Regions from separate parts of the Homo sapiens genome. Here regions 1, 3 and 4 are each linked to region 2. The links are contacts of gene promoters, found by promoter capture Hi-C in blood cells and fetal thymus (Javierre and others, 2016). All regions are on one chromosome and are shown on one strand. The core of a region is centred on a gene start or on the middle of the fragment in contact, and the rest is flanking DNA. Distances in the headings are between cores, read along the strand shown.

Region 1 (3,632 bases), core at 626-3,125, 390 kb after region 2:
GTGTTCTAAAGCTTGTTCAACCAAAGTCTATGATTTAAATAATAGGCACAGGAAGAAATTACCCGACTTCGACGAGAAATGATGAAAAGCTGTAAGAGTCCTAAATCAACAACGGCACATGCTATTCTCCGGCGAGTGGAGACTGAAAGAGATGTAGCCTTTACTGATTTACGAAGAATGACCACAGAACGAGATAGTCTAAGGGAGAGGCTAAAGGTTGGAAAGGATTTTATTTACGTGAATATATGTGAAACACAAATTCAGGGATATTGAAATCACTTTATTTTGTTTTTGCTTTTTAATCAGATTGCTCAAGAGACAGCATTTAATGAGAAGGCTCACCTGGAACAAAGGATAGAGGAGCTGGAGTGTACAGTTCATAATGTAAAAAAAAAAAAAAAGAAAAGTCTCTTTTGGCTATAAACACTCAATGGCTTTCCCCTTTCTCCTTTTTCTGTATTCAGAGAAGTTATTTTATTTTTCTAAGATAGTGTTTATAGTCCTAAAATACTTAAGGTATTTTATAGTGTAAATTGTCACTTTTTCATTTGTTTATTTCCTTCTAAAAATGTGAGTAAATGTTTTTTGGTGTTAGGTTGCAAAGTATGTACTTTAAAAAAATCATTAGGCATTCATTTTCAGGGATCTTATCTACTTTCTCATCTCCATATTTTGTTAAAGATAATATTGCCAGATGTAAAGAAAATGGTTTATTCTACCTAAAGAGTGGATAAGGAGAGAAAATTATGATGAAATAAAAATTATAAGCAAAGTTTATTTAAACTAAATTTAAATGTGAAACATCACCTTTTTCCTAATCAGATTTGATATTGCTACGAATATATATTGATGATATTGTCACTATATAAACATAAGAGAATTTAACTTTCTATTACCAAATATAATTGAATATATTTATAAGTTCATCTGTACTGTTTTATTGTAATGAGTTAAAAATATGAGATAGGGGCTGGGCACGGTGGCTCATGCCTGTAATCCCAGCACTTTGGGAGGCCAAGGCGGGTGGATCACCTAAGGTCAGGAGTTTGAGACCAGCCTGACCAATATGGTGAAACCCTGTCTCTACTAAAAATATGAAAATTTGCCAGGTGTGGTGGCATGCGCCTGTAGTCCCAGCTACTTGGGAGGCTGAGACAGGAGAATTGCTTGCACCCGGGAGGTGGAGATTGCAGTGAGCCGAGATCGCGCCACTGCACTTCAACCTGGGCGATGGAGCGATACTCTGTCTCAAAAAAAAAAAAAATTACTAGACAGGAGAAAATAATTTTTGTTTTCATAATTCTACATTATATGTGTAATTTATTAATGTTGGGCAACAAATAAATTCTTTTGCAAACAGCATATTTATACTATAGTCAAATTGAACCAGATTGAAAAATATAGACTGATATACTGTGATAAGCTTTACTTTGCAGTGGCTTTTCCTTGGTCCTACTTCACAACACCTTATCTGTAAAACCTTCTACAGCAGTCAGGTCTAACCTGATAATCTCATCCTGTCAGTCTTGCCATAAACCAGTTTGTACAGAGGGAGTATGCCCTTCAGGAAGATTACTAAGGTGTTTTTAGTGATGGCAGTAACCTTGTCATTCTACTTGTATAGCTTGATGATGAACGTATGGAGCAAATGTCAAATATGACTTTGATGAAGGAAACCATAAGCACTGTGGAAAAAGAAATGAAATCACTAGCAAGAAAGGCAATGGATACCGAAAGTGAACTTGGCAGACAAAAAGCAGAGAATAATTCTTTGAGGTAAACTAAATCACCTTTAAACAACCAACAGTTTACTATAACTATAGCTCTGCTTTTTATAGTGTATTTTATAATGAAAATTATTTGTTGAGTTCAGTTTCTGAGAGGATTATTGAAAAGCAGTTGTAGGAACCCTTGGCACACAGTGAACAATTTTCCTGAGCTCAATCACAGGCTGGTAATGCCACACTTAACTAGGAATCACACTTCTAGTAATCTTACTTTACATTTGTAAAAAACTTCAACTTTTAACTGAAATAGCTTTTACAAAGCTCTTCTGGGTACAGAATATATTTGACTTTGATTGTTTACCTTTATAACTTTAAATTCTGTTTGGGGATATGAACAGTATAAGAAAACACAAAGCACAGGTTTGGCAGTTGCTTAGAAAAAGGGTGATTTAGAATATAATGAAAAGCCGTAACAGAGAAATAGGAGCACGTGATGGAGCATCTATTAATTGAATGCAAGTACTATACTTAGCCTTTCCTGTGTACTGGCATGGTTGCCGAAGATGTATCAATTGAAGCAGCCTACAGCAATAAGCTTGGGAGAATGAGTTTTTGAAGACCTCTACATGAGTGGTTTTACTTTTAGTATCTGTTGCTGTGAGAAACAGAGGTTCTACAGATTCAGTAAGGTTGAATTTCATTGCATCTATGAACATTGAAAAATAGTAATAGCTTAATATCTAGGTGACGGGTTGATCTGTGCGGCAAACCACCGTGGCACATGTTTACCTGTGTAACACACCTGCATGTTCTGCACATGTACCCCGGAACTTAAGAAAGAAAAATAGTAGTTCACACTCCTATTAATGCTGAGATTACAGGCATGAGCCACCGGGCCTGGTCTTTCTTAACAATTTTTTTTTTTTTTTTTTTTAGTCATAAAACCAATTATTTAATTGAAGCTATAAAAAAGGCAGTATAAGCGATAAAATAATTAGGAAAGAATATTTAGCATGTTTCAAAACATTTAAAATAGGAGCAGAACATTTTACAAAAAGTTGTACAGGAAATTAAATTCTAAAACTGTAAGTACAAACATGACATTACAGAGTATCTTATAAAATACAAAGACAAATATAAAAGGACTATGATGCTTTAAGTCTGAAAACTATTGGCCAAATATTTAGGTTTATATTTACAGTTCTGGGTATGAGAATCATATTACTATACACAACTCCCAAACCAGTAAGTAGTATTTTCCAATTAACCATGTGTGGTATCATCTTCTACAAAGTCTTTGGCCATCTCCGCTGTGATCACATCAATATGACTAACCTTATTTCTGAACTTTACACCATAGAATTTGTCAGCTGACTCAAGCAGTTCAGGCCTAAAAGTAGTTGTAATAAACTGAGCATGTACAGCAAGTTCCATAATCATATCTGACACAGCCTTTCTGTGCTGAGCATCCAGAGCCTGGTCAATCTCATCAAACAAGTAAAATGGAGCCGGGTCACATTTCTGAATGGCAAAAATCAGAGCAAGGGCTACCAAGGATTTCTGTCCACCTGAAAGCTGTTGCATTTCTCTCATTTCACCTTGTTTTCCTGTAAATGACACCCTAATTCCAACTCCAGTAAACTGCTCAACTGATGGGACACTGCTTTGTGAGCTAGAACCCCTCTCACTCTCACCACTCCCTTCTCCTTCATCTTGAGACTGACTGCCCTCCACATCTCCTTTCTTCATCACCAAAGTAGCTTTGCCACCAGGTACTAACTTCTGGAATACTTCACTGAAGTTCTTGGATACCTGTTTGAAAGTTAACTGAATAGCTTCATATTTCCGAAGTTCAAGTATATTCATCAGCTCCATGATCGATTTGTAACCCCTATCTAACTCTTC
Region 2 (3,384 bases), core at 764-3,263:
TCACAAGGATGCTAGAATTTGTCCATAAATACATTTTTATTTATGTATTCCCCATCTCTCTTTTTATCCTATTTTATGTAGACAGCAACGTGATTTTTTTTCGTCCTTTACAGAGGCTGCCTACTAGTTTGCAGTTAATACCATTTTACTGTATTCTATAAAGGTATTGCCAAGGTCAGTTGGCTCAAGGTTTGTGTTTCTTCCTTGAGAAAAATACAAAAAGAAGAAAAAAAAAGATCTTCGGTTTGAATACGAGAGTGGAAAAGAAAATTGAAATACAATCGTGCAGGAATGCTGCCATTTAGACATTTAAAACAAGCAAAAGAACAACAACCAAAACAAAACTCACCCATAACAAGGGGTTACCACTGTTTTTCTGTAGCATCTCAGCAGATGACCTCCTGGTGTTGCAGTCGGCAACTGGTCGTGAGTCTGTTAAAATTATGGGCAGGCACGGTGGCTCACGCCTATAATCCTAGCACTTTAGGATGCCAAGGCTGGTGGATTACCTGAGGTCAGGACTTCCAGACCAGCCTGGCCAACATGGTGAAACCCCCTCTCTACTAAAAATACAAAAATTAGCCGGGCATGGTGGCGCATGCCTGTAATCCCAGCTACTCGGGAGGCTGAGGTGGGAGAATCACTTGAACCTGGGAGGCGGAGGTTGCAGTGAGCCGAGATCGCGCCATTGCACTCCAGCCTGGGCAAAAGAGCAAAACTTCGTCTCAAAAGAAAAGAAAAGAAAAGAAAGCAATTACGCAATTTGTTTTAAATTATGACGTCTTTGAAAAGTATGCAATCTAAATTCGTTGGATTAGCGACGAGAATACTGAAGTTGAAGTGCATTTATAGAAGTCTATAAAATGGCAAAAAACTGAAAGGGAAAGAAATGAGCTATTTGAGTATTCTCTGTGTTGCTAGTAAACAAGTTCCAACTCTGCAAATCAGTTTTCAAAAGAATACTGATTGTTTCCTAAGTACCTGCAAACTCTGAAGCATTTTAGGCAAGGGAATGAGTGGGAAAAAAGTATCTTCATGTTTGTGCATTACAACAATAAAGACTATTATGTAACAATGTGGAGTCTTCAAAGCGACCCTGCCAAGAGGGAGAAAGTGGTCCTTATGGACGGATTGTTTTCTGCTAGAAGGCCCTCAATTAGAATTGTACTTACGCATACATAATATAGGATATTATTTTTATATTCATAGAAAACTGCTTTCTCGGGTAACTCCAGCGCTGTACATGGGATGGGATACCGGCCCTCCGTTTACAAATACTCAGGCGCAATGCTGCCCGGGCACTCAAAGGACAGAAGATAGTGTCTGTGCCCTGCGGGAGCAGGCCACGAATCCCGAAAACGCCGTGGCGCAGTGCTCCTTCCCGCGAACCTGAGTGGGCCGTGGTTCTCGGTTGCTCTGGACATAGGAAAATGTCAGTTCATGTGTGTCCCTTTCTCCACTAGATGTCACTGTAAATCAATTGCTTAAGGAGGGAACCCGGGCGTCTGGCGCATCTTCACACAGTACCGGGGTTTGAAGCCCGGTCAGTGTCTGCACTTGTGTCCTTCCCCACTGGGGAGCCCCAAGGCGGGGCAGGCGCGGGGACTCGCTGTGCACGGAGCGGCGCGCTGTCCGAATGGCAACCGAAGAGCCGCGACCCGGTCAACGAAGCGCGGGGGTGACCGGAGCAGGACGGGCGGGCAGGCGGCGCAGTGCGTGGGCGGGCCCGCGCTGCGCTCCCCTCCGCCCAGCTAGCGAGACGGTCACGTGCCGCCCAGGCGCTGCCCCTTGCGGGCGGCTGCAGAACAACAGGGCGGGGCCGGGGAGGGGAGGAACACGGAGGCCGACGCCGGGCGCCGCGGTGCTACGCCCGAGGCTGGGGTCGCCCCGGGCCGGGGGGAGCAGAGCGCGTGCGCCGCGCGGCTGTGAGCGCGAGCGGGGCCGGGGAGCGCGCGCGGAACGCTAGGGGGCGTGGCTGCGGCGCGCGCGCTAACCGGAGGGGGAGGGGCGGAGAGCCACCGCGGAGCGCGCGCGGGGTTGGTTGCCGCGAGCGTGGGGGAGCGTGGACCGCGGCGCTGCTCAGCGGTGGGGCTGCCTTCCCCCGGCCCTCCTCCCTGGTCCCTGGCGAGGGCACTGGCGGCGGCGGGGCCGGGGTCCGCAAGGCCGGAGAAGGCCGCCGGGCCCGGGCATGGTGGTCTGGGGCAACGCGGAAGGTGAGCGACCCCCGGGCCGGCGGCGGGGTGGGGGAGGGGCGGGATCGGACACGCGTCGCCCGGAGGCGCCGCAGACCCGCCCGGCAGCGGCCAGAGCGCGGTCGGCCTGAGGTGGCGCGGGGGAGGGGTGCGTCGCCCCGGCCCCGGCCCGCGGCCGTCCTGTCGCGGCCTGGGCTGTCCACGGCGCCTTCCCCTGACGCTCGCAGCCGCCGGGTTATGTAATGTGTGACCTCCCCTCCCCTTCCCTTCCGTCATGGCGCGGCCGGCCCCGCGCCGCCGCCAGCCCCATGGGCCGCCCCGCGCCGACCCCTGGCGCAGCGGCCCTTCCCTCCGCGCCCGGCCGCATCCCGCCGGCCCGGTCAGACCGCGCCGCAAACTCCTTCCTCCTGCGCCGGCGCCTCGGCCGGCCATTCAGTTCCGCGCCATTCATTCACGCGCGCGTTCGGGCGTTCGTTCCACAAGCGTTTGTAGAATGTCGACCCGGTCGAGCCGCCGCTCCCACCCGCACTCCAGCCACAGCGTTTTTCCGCACCCCGCCTTCGACGTCCCCGGTGCATCCCAGAACCGGTCGGAATGTCCGAAGGCGGTTGTTGCTCCCTTGTTTTTCCTTGCTGCTTGTCCGTTCGCTAAATACGCTGGGCGCCGTTCCCCAACTGTCCTTCCGAGAGCCCCTTGCCCACTTCTGTACTGTTACAGTGACGCCGCTCTGGGCGCACCGAGCCGCGCTGTGTTTCGCTGCTCTTCCTACCTATTCTCAGTTTGTAAAGAAATAATCTCACATAACACTCCTTAATGTACTCCTCCGTAAGATAAATTGCAGATAATATACGTCTGCTAATTCTCTTTATCTCCACGTCTTCTCACGCCATGTACTAAGTAGAAATGGTTTCATTTAGGTGAAAATAATGCAGACTAGCACATAGCACAACAAGGGCTTGTAACTATTAAGGACTTTATGTAACAGTCTGTAATTCTGTGTATCTGTCTGGTCTTTCCGGACTTGGCACTTTAGTCTCCGAGAATAAGCCATTTCCTGTTTAGGTAGGGTAGGACCAACCATAACCTTGGTTCTTTCTATGGAGTTCTGTATGTAGCAAATCAGCCTGTGGGAACCATCTATCTGTCCACCAACCTTTCACACATATTCTTGGGTTTGCCCGTGCAGGGACCA
Region 3 (3,230 bases), core at 527-3,026, 320 kb after region 2:
GCACCTGACATCATGCCTGGCTACTTTTTATATTTTTAGTAGAGCTGGGGTTTCACCATGTTGGCCAGGCTGGTCTCGAACTCCTGACCTCAAATGATCTACCTACCTTGGCCTCCCAAAATGCTGGGATTACAGGCGTGAGCTACCGCGCTCTGCCCTGCATTCATGTTTAATACTCACTTTAGTTATTAGATTGCAAGACATAAAAAGACAAGTCTGAAGAGGAGGACCAGATAGCCACTGAGTTTCAGTATGTGGTGCTACCCATGGCGACAGGGAGTTATTGGATACCTTTATATATACACTACTCCCTTCAACAAACTGCCTGGTCTATAGGATCTTGCTCAAGGACCTGTTCCAGGAAACCTCTAGATTTTCCCCCTTGCCTAGCCTCTGTGAAGGCAGAAATCACTAATGGAGTGGTTTGCCTTAAATACCTTTGTACGTGTAACATCCTGCAATGTATATGATATTTAGTAGGCATTCAATAAGTATTTGCTGAATAAGTTAAAAAAATTAATATGTATCTGATGCTGATTAATCACTCTATATAAAATATAAAATGTGTAAAAAAAAAATGGTCACTGGTTTTACTGTTGAAGCCTGTGTTTTATAGATGGAAAATATCACAAGCAAATTAAAATAGAAGAGAATGCAACAGGTTTCAGTTATGAGTCACTTTTTCGCGAATACCTTAATGAGACAGTTACAGAAGTTTGGATAGAAGATCCTTATATTAGACATACTCATCAGGTATGTGAACATACTAAAATATAATGAAATATCATATTCAATGTACTAAATTAGTAATAATCCATTCTAATGTCTTTTAGCTGTATAACTTTCTTCGATTTTGTGAGATGCTTATTAAGAGACCATGTAAAGTAAAAACTATTCACCTTCTCACCTCTCTGGATGAAGTAGGTACCTGAAAGCACTTACTCTTTCTTATTAACTTTATTCAGTTACAAGATGTAGTCCAGTCAAGGAGAACACAGATGCAGTGCTTCAGCTAGATTTGTTTCCTTGGGAATTAACTTATTATCTAACAGTATGCATAACATGTCATAAAAAAAGTTATTGATTTTAGGATGCTGATTTTGTATTTGGCCACTTTGCTAAATGCACTTATTCAAATAGTTTGTTAGTTTAGTCTCTTGGATATTCTAGGAGGCAATCACACTGTCTGCACTATGAACAATTTTGTTTCTTTACCAATTATTATATCTGGGGGATGGTAGCATGATATGATATGGTAGTGGGCATCTCTATCTTGGTTTTGACTTAAAATAAGAATGCTTCTAAATAATTATGATTTCTACGATTGATTTCAAAAGCAGTCAGCTCCACCTGGATGATTAAAACTATTCTAAACTACATTTAAGGAGACAGGATGGAGTTATGTTCACATTAGAAAAAAAGATGATTTTGATAAAAATAATTGCTCTTTAAACTACCTCACATTGGTTGTTTTTTTGAGATAATAGACATTGAAACTAGTATAGAACATTTCCATCTTAATCCACCTGTGATATAGATTGTATAGCTTAGGGATAATTTAAGATAGTAATAATAACTGCGGCAGATAATCGTATTTTTGCTATTAACAGGGCATTGAGCAAGTGCAGCAAAGTAGAGGCCTGCAAGAAATAGAAGAGTCACTCAGGAGTCACGGAGTGCTGTTGGAAGTTCAATACTCTTCTTCAATACATGACCGAGAAATTAGGTTAGTCTACAATAATGTTTTAATTTTTATGCAGTTGATATATACTTAAAATTTTTGTAAATGTTTTATATAATTGCCTATAAATATTTAATAATTTATAAATATTTAAAATTCAAATAAAACTCCATTTAGTACTTTTTCACTTTTGAGAAGAAAAAAAACACTTGGCTTTCTTTTTGACAAAGTAAGCCAAGTGTTTTGTGTGTGAGTTTAATATTTCCTAATGGAATAGTATTTACATGTTCTGTGTCATATAGAAAAAGAGAACACTTTTCTGTCTACTCAACTGTATATATAGTGTTATGATATTAGGATAATTTATTTTCTAGTGAACTTAATATTTACTTAATGTGGCTTTACTTCTTAGGGGTTATTAAATATTCTAGTAGGCATGACAATTTGCTGAGTCTATAAGAAAACAGAATATGCAGTTATTTTAGTGATATCTTCCTTTTGTTTAGCACAGTGGTTATGTTTATAGCAAGGGCACTCAGTTTTAATAAAAACTTAATCACAAACTAAATATGCAAAACAGATGAAAATGCAGCTGCTGTAGTTAAAGCAGAGGTCAGGGTCCAGGGCTCCTCCTGCACATTCCCCATCTCTAGGTAGGGGAACTCTTGAAACACCACCAGTTTCCCTGAATACACTTTGCCACCACTTGTTAGCAGAACACGAAAAAGTTTTATCAACAAGCTGAAATTCAAGATTAAACTATCAGATAATTAAATCAACTGATTGTTTCTATGACTGTTTTCATTGTGGACACAGCTCATAATGAACCCCAGGTTTGATTCAACTCATGCCACTGGAGGAAGTGGTTTGCTTTGTTAGGGGGAAATTTTGCTGACACTTAATACACTACAGCTTTATTAATAGTCTGACTTAAATGTCTTGAATATAATACTATATACTAATTTCAACAGGTTCAACAATGGATGGATGATTAAGATTGGAAGGGGACTTGATTATTTTAAGAAACCACAGGTAGGATATAATCTTATGAGTAAATGTGTAGCACTGTTTTTGTATCATTTTTAATGATACTCTTTTCTTCTCTTCTTAGAGTCGTTTTTCCCTTGGATATTGTGATTTTGATTTAAGACCATGTCATGAAACAACAGTAGACATTTTTCATAAGAAGCATACAAAAAATATATGATGGGTGGTAGCCTAATTTGTATTATGTCTACTTTAAGTGAATATTGGATTTTTTTTAAAAGATCACTTTTATAATGTATGAATTTAACAATAAACTTTTATATTTCTACTAATTTATGGATCCATCATTCAGTTGTGGGAACAATCCTAAATATTTTTGTAAATATATTACTCAGCAGATTTACAATGTTTCTTTCAAGTAATACAGCTAATTTAAACATTTTACCAGCTTCTCTGTTACTTGGCTGCGGGAGCATGTCAACAAATAATAAGCATCTATTAGGAAGATGAATTAGATCTTAATTTTGCCTGTGGGAGTTTTAAGTCCAGGAGGGAAAGACAC
Region 4 (3,591 bases), core at 832-3,331, 410 kb after region 2:
CCTGGCTTCTCCTTTCTTTTAAATTTTTTTGGGCTAATTACTTTTTTGGATGCATTTTTTAAATTAATTAATTAATTAATTTTGAGACGGAGTCTTACTCTGTCACCCAGGCTGGAGTGCAGTGGTGCGATCTCACCTCACTGCAACCTCCGCCTCCTGGGTTCAAGCAATTCTCCTGCCTCAGCCTCCTGAGTAGCTAGGATTGCAGGTGCATGCCACTGTGCCCGGCTAATTTTTGTATTTTTAGTAGAGACAGGGTTTCACCATGTTCAGGCTGTTCTCAAACTCCTGACTTCATGATCTACCCACCTTGGCCTCCCAAAGTGCTGGGATTACAGACATGAGCCACCGCTCCCGGCCTGGATGCACTTATTCTAATATACCAGCTTCTGCTTGATTTTGTAATCAGTGGGTTTTGTTTCGTTTTTAAATGACTGGCCATCTCAAATGTCTTATAATTTTGGCCCTGGGACACATTTTGCCATGGAGATATAAGTTATTGTGTAAAACAATGCTCTTGGGTGACTAACAATATCAGCCTCTTTGAGTTCATGGTATGGGGGGATGGGAGAGACGCTGATGCCATAAAACCACTATCACTTTCTGCCTCATATACACCTGCTTTGTCAGTTTTTCACCTTTTGCTACCCTAGATGAAGAGACATCAGGAGGCTCTATTAGTCTATTCTTGTGTTGCCATAAAGAAATACCTGAGTGTGGGTCATTTTAAAAGAAAGGAAATTTATTTTAGCTTATGGTTCTGCAGGCTGTACAGGAAGCATGGTGCTGGCATTTGCTTCTGGTGAGGGCACGAGACAGCTTGCCATCTTGGTGGAAAGCAAAGGGGGAGCCAGTGCATCACATGACAAGGGCAGGAGCAAGAGAAAAGGGGAGGTCCCAGATTTCTTTGAACAGCCAGATCTCATGTGAACTAACTAGCGAGATCTCACTTATCACCAAGGGGATAGTGTTAAACCATTCATGAGGGACCTGCCCCCGTGATCCAGTCATCTCTTCCCCAGGCCCCACTTCCAACATTGGAAATCACATTTCAACATGAGATTTGTAGCGGACAAACATCCAAACCATATCAGATGCATTCCTTAACAGCCTTGGCTGCATATTAGAATCAAATGAGGAGCTTTAAAAAACAATAGTGATGTTAATTCTCATTCCCAGAGATTTTAATTTAATTGGCATAATTGTGCAGCCTAACTCTAGGACTTTTTTTTGTTTTGCTGCTTTAAAATAATTTCATAATTTGTAGGAAGTTACAAAAATATACAGATAAGTCGATGTATTCCCGTCACCCACTTTCCCACAATGATTACATTTTATATCACTATAGTACAATATCAAAGCCAGAAAATTGACATTGGTACAATGTGTGTGCATAGTTCTGTCATTTTATCACATATGTAGTTTCATGTAACTACTACCACATTCAAGACACGGAAAGTCTATTACCGCAAAAATATCCCTCATGCTACTCCTTTACAGTCACATCTCCTCTTCCCCCACCATGATCCCTAATATCTGACACTAATCTGTTGTCCAACTCTGTAATTTTGTCATTTCAAGAATGTTATAGGAAGAGTCATACAGCCATGATTTTCAAGATTCGCTTGAAAACTCAGAATAATGCCATTGAGATCCAGCCAAGTATTAAATTTTGCTACTTTTTAATATTGCTGAGTAACATTCCATAGTATGAATGTACCATAATTTGTTCAGCTATTCACCTGGTGAGGGACATTTTGATTTTTTCCAGGTTTTGGCTGTTAAAAATAAGGTAGACCATATGCATTTAATATAATTATTGGTAGGGCTCAATTCTCCATGTTATTTTTTGGGGGTGTTTTTCGTTTGTTTCTTTCCTCTGTTTCTCATGTCTCTGTTTTTGTTTTCCTGCCTTTTCATGGATTACTTGACATTTTTTAGAATCCCATTTTTGATATCTGTAGTATTTTTGAGTGTCTATAGATTTTTCAGTGGTTGCTCTGTGAATTGTACTTACTTATCACGATCCACTGGTGTCACATTTTATCAGTTTGCATAAAGTATAGAAATCTTGTCTCCTTTTAAGTCCTTTTATCCTCCCCCATTTATAATTGTCTTAATAGATACAGGTTAATACCTCTTTAGTCTTGGATTTCATCTTTTATTAGGTATTATTTTGTTGAATATTGTCTTTATTCTTCCCTACTGGGATTTTGATTTGGTAAATATTGGACCTTCTTATTCTGTCTTTTATGTCTGTTAACCTCTATTTTGTATTTTTTCATTGTTTTATTTGTGCTCTAATATAGGACCTCTGATCTGTTTTTTTCCCCAGTTTACCAGTTATCTCTTTCACAGTGTCTATTCTGTATTTTTAACTTGTCCACTGAGTTTTGTAATCTTTAAAATTTTGATGTTAGTTTAATTTTGTGAAGTTCTATTTGGTTCTTTTCCAAATTTGTTGATTATTTTTTTCTTTATATATCCTATTATTTTATGTGTTTGTATTTAAACACATGTATTTCTAAGTTTCTATTTGATAGTGCTGTAGTCTGAAGTTCTTAGGGATCTAATTTAGTTTGTGTGTCTTTTGACTCCCACTAAGGTTGGATTGTTTCTTGATGTATTTTTAAATTTTGAATTATGAGATCCTTTTCCATAGGCCTTTGTCTGGGGTTAGTTCTGTGCTTGGGTTGAGAGCATGCCTCCAGAGTTTTGCAAGGGGTTCCTGATTATATGACCAATCGGGAACCAAATTTTATTTTGATGCTTAGATTGAGATTAAGACTCTTTGTTGTGTTATACCCAAGCGAGTTAGAGAAAACGCCACACTTTGAGACGAATTAAGAGTCCTTTATTAAGCCGGCGGCCAAAGAGACGGCTAACGCTCAAAATTCTCTCAGCCTCGAGGAAGGGGCTTGATTAACTTTATACCTTAGTTTAGGAAGGGGAGGGGAGCTCAAATGCAATAATTCTACAGAAGTAAAAACATGCAAGAATCAAAAAAACAAATGGTTACAGAGAGATTAACAATTTAAAAGGCAAATGGTTACAAAAAAAAGCAACGGAACCAGGTGCGGGGCTCTAAATCCTTTGTTAGATATGGATGCTATGCTGGACACAGACTCAAGGCTTTATGTTGTTATCTTTTTGAGCAAAATCCTGGGAACTTCACACATTGTTTGTTCCAGTACCTTATCAGTTAATTTGGCTCCTTTGAAATGCTGAGGGTCTGCTTACACAGGTTAACTCCTTGAGGAAGGGGGTCGGGTAAGGAGCCCTTAATGTCTTGTAAATCAAGGGGCCAAATGGAGTTTGTCCGGCTTTCCCAGCTAAGGGAGAGTCTTATTTATATGGGAAACAAGGCTAGGTAGTTAAGGAGACAAAAAGGGAAAATTTAAAAATAGAGTTAGTAAAAAACAAGGTTAGGCATTACAGTTGTTATTATTTTCCTGAGCCTAGCAGCAATTGACAAGGTGTTTTTCTCTAGTCTGACCTTCTCACTAATGGTATATCTCTCCATATTTACATGGGACACCTTAGTTCTATTTCCTGTGTTGCAGACATCTCTATGGCCTCATCTTGTTTCTG

The links. The method cuts DNA at HindIII sites, captures the fragments that hold promoters and counts their contacts. A CHiCAGO score of 5 or more calls a contact.
Region 1: a contact is called between a fragment that was not itself captured here and the fragment with the promoter of REV1 in region 2, in 1 of 17 cell types (erythroblasts). The highest score is 5.6, in erythroblasts.
Region 3: a fragment that was not itself captured here is called in contact with the fragment with the promoter of REV1 in region 2 in 1 of 17 cell types (neutrophils); the score reaches 5.9 in neutrophils.
Region 4: a contact is called between a fragment that was not itself captured here and the fragment with the promoter of REV1 in region 2, in 1 of 17 cell types (megakaryocytes). The highest score is 5.9, in megakaryocytes.

What each region holds. Positions count from the first base shown.
Region 1 is chr2:99,102,111-99,105,742 of GRCh38, reverse strand. TSGA10 (testis specific 10) reads left to right here. Exons shown (of 21, transcript NM_025244.4): 8 at 46-216; 9 at 307-384; 10 at 1,625-1,776. It also overlaps the pseudogene SMC3P1. Among named protein-coding and RNA genes, the nearest start is that of C2orf15, 38 kb to the left of the region's middle. The HindIII fragment of the contact is 899 bases long and covers 1,426-2,324 here.
Region 2 is chr2:99,488,646-99,492,029 of GRCh38, reverse strand. It overlaps REV1 (REV1 DNA directed polymerase), which reads left to right and starts at 2,013. Exons shown (of 23, transcript NM_016316.4): 1 at 2,013-2,213. RefSeq lists an enhancer at 1,190-2,075 and silencers at 1,509-2,178, 2,289-2,388, 2,459-2,538. The HindIII fragment of the contact is 11,070 bases long and covers 1-3,384 here.
Region 3 is chr2:99,169,033-99,172,262 of GRCh38, reverse strand. It overlaps MITD1 (microtubule interacting and trafficking domain containing 1), which reads left to right. Exons shown (of 7, transcript NM_138798.3): 3 at 617-753; 4 at 834-920; 5 at 1,611-1,726; 6 at 2,653-2,713; 7 at 2,793-3,000. The coding sequence ends at 2,888. Among named protein-coding and RNA genes, the nearest start is that of MITD1, 10 kb to the left of the region's middle. The HindIII fragment of the contact is 3,867 bases long and covers 1-3,230 here.
Region 4 is chr2:99,081,739-99,085,329 of GRCh38, reverse strand. The region is part of intron 10 of TSGA10 (testis specific 10); the gene reads left to right. Among named protein-coding and RNA genes, the nearest start is that of C2orf15, 58 kb to the left of the region's middle. RefSeq lists an enhancer at 2,773-3,531. The HindIII fragment of the contact is 6,735 bases long and covers 1-3,591 here.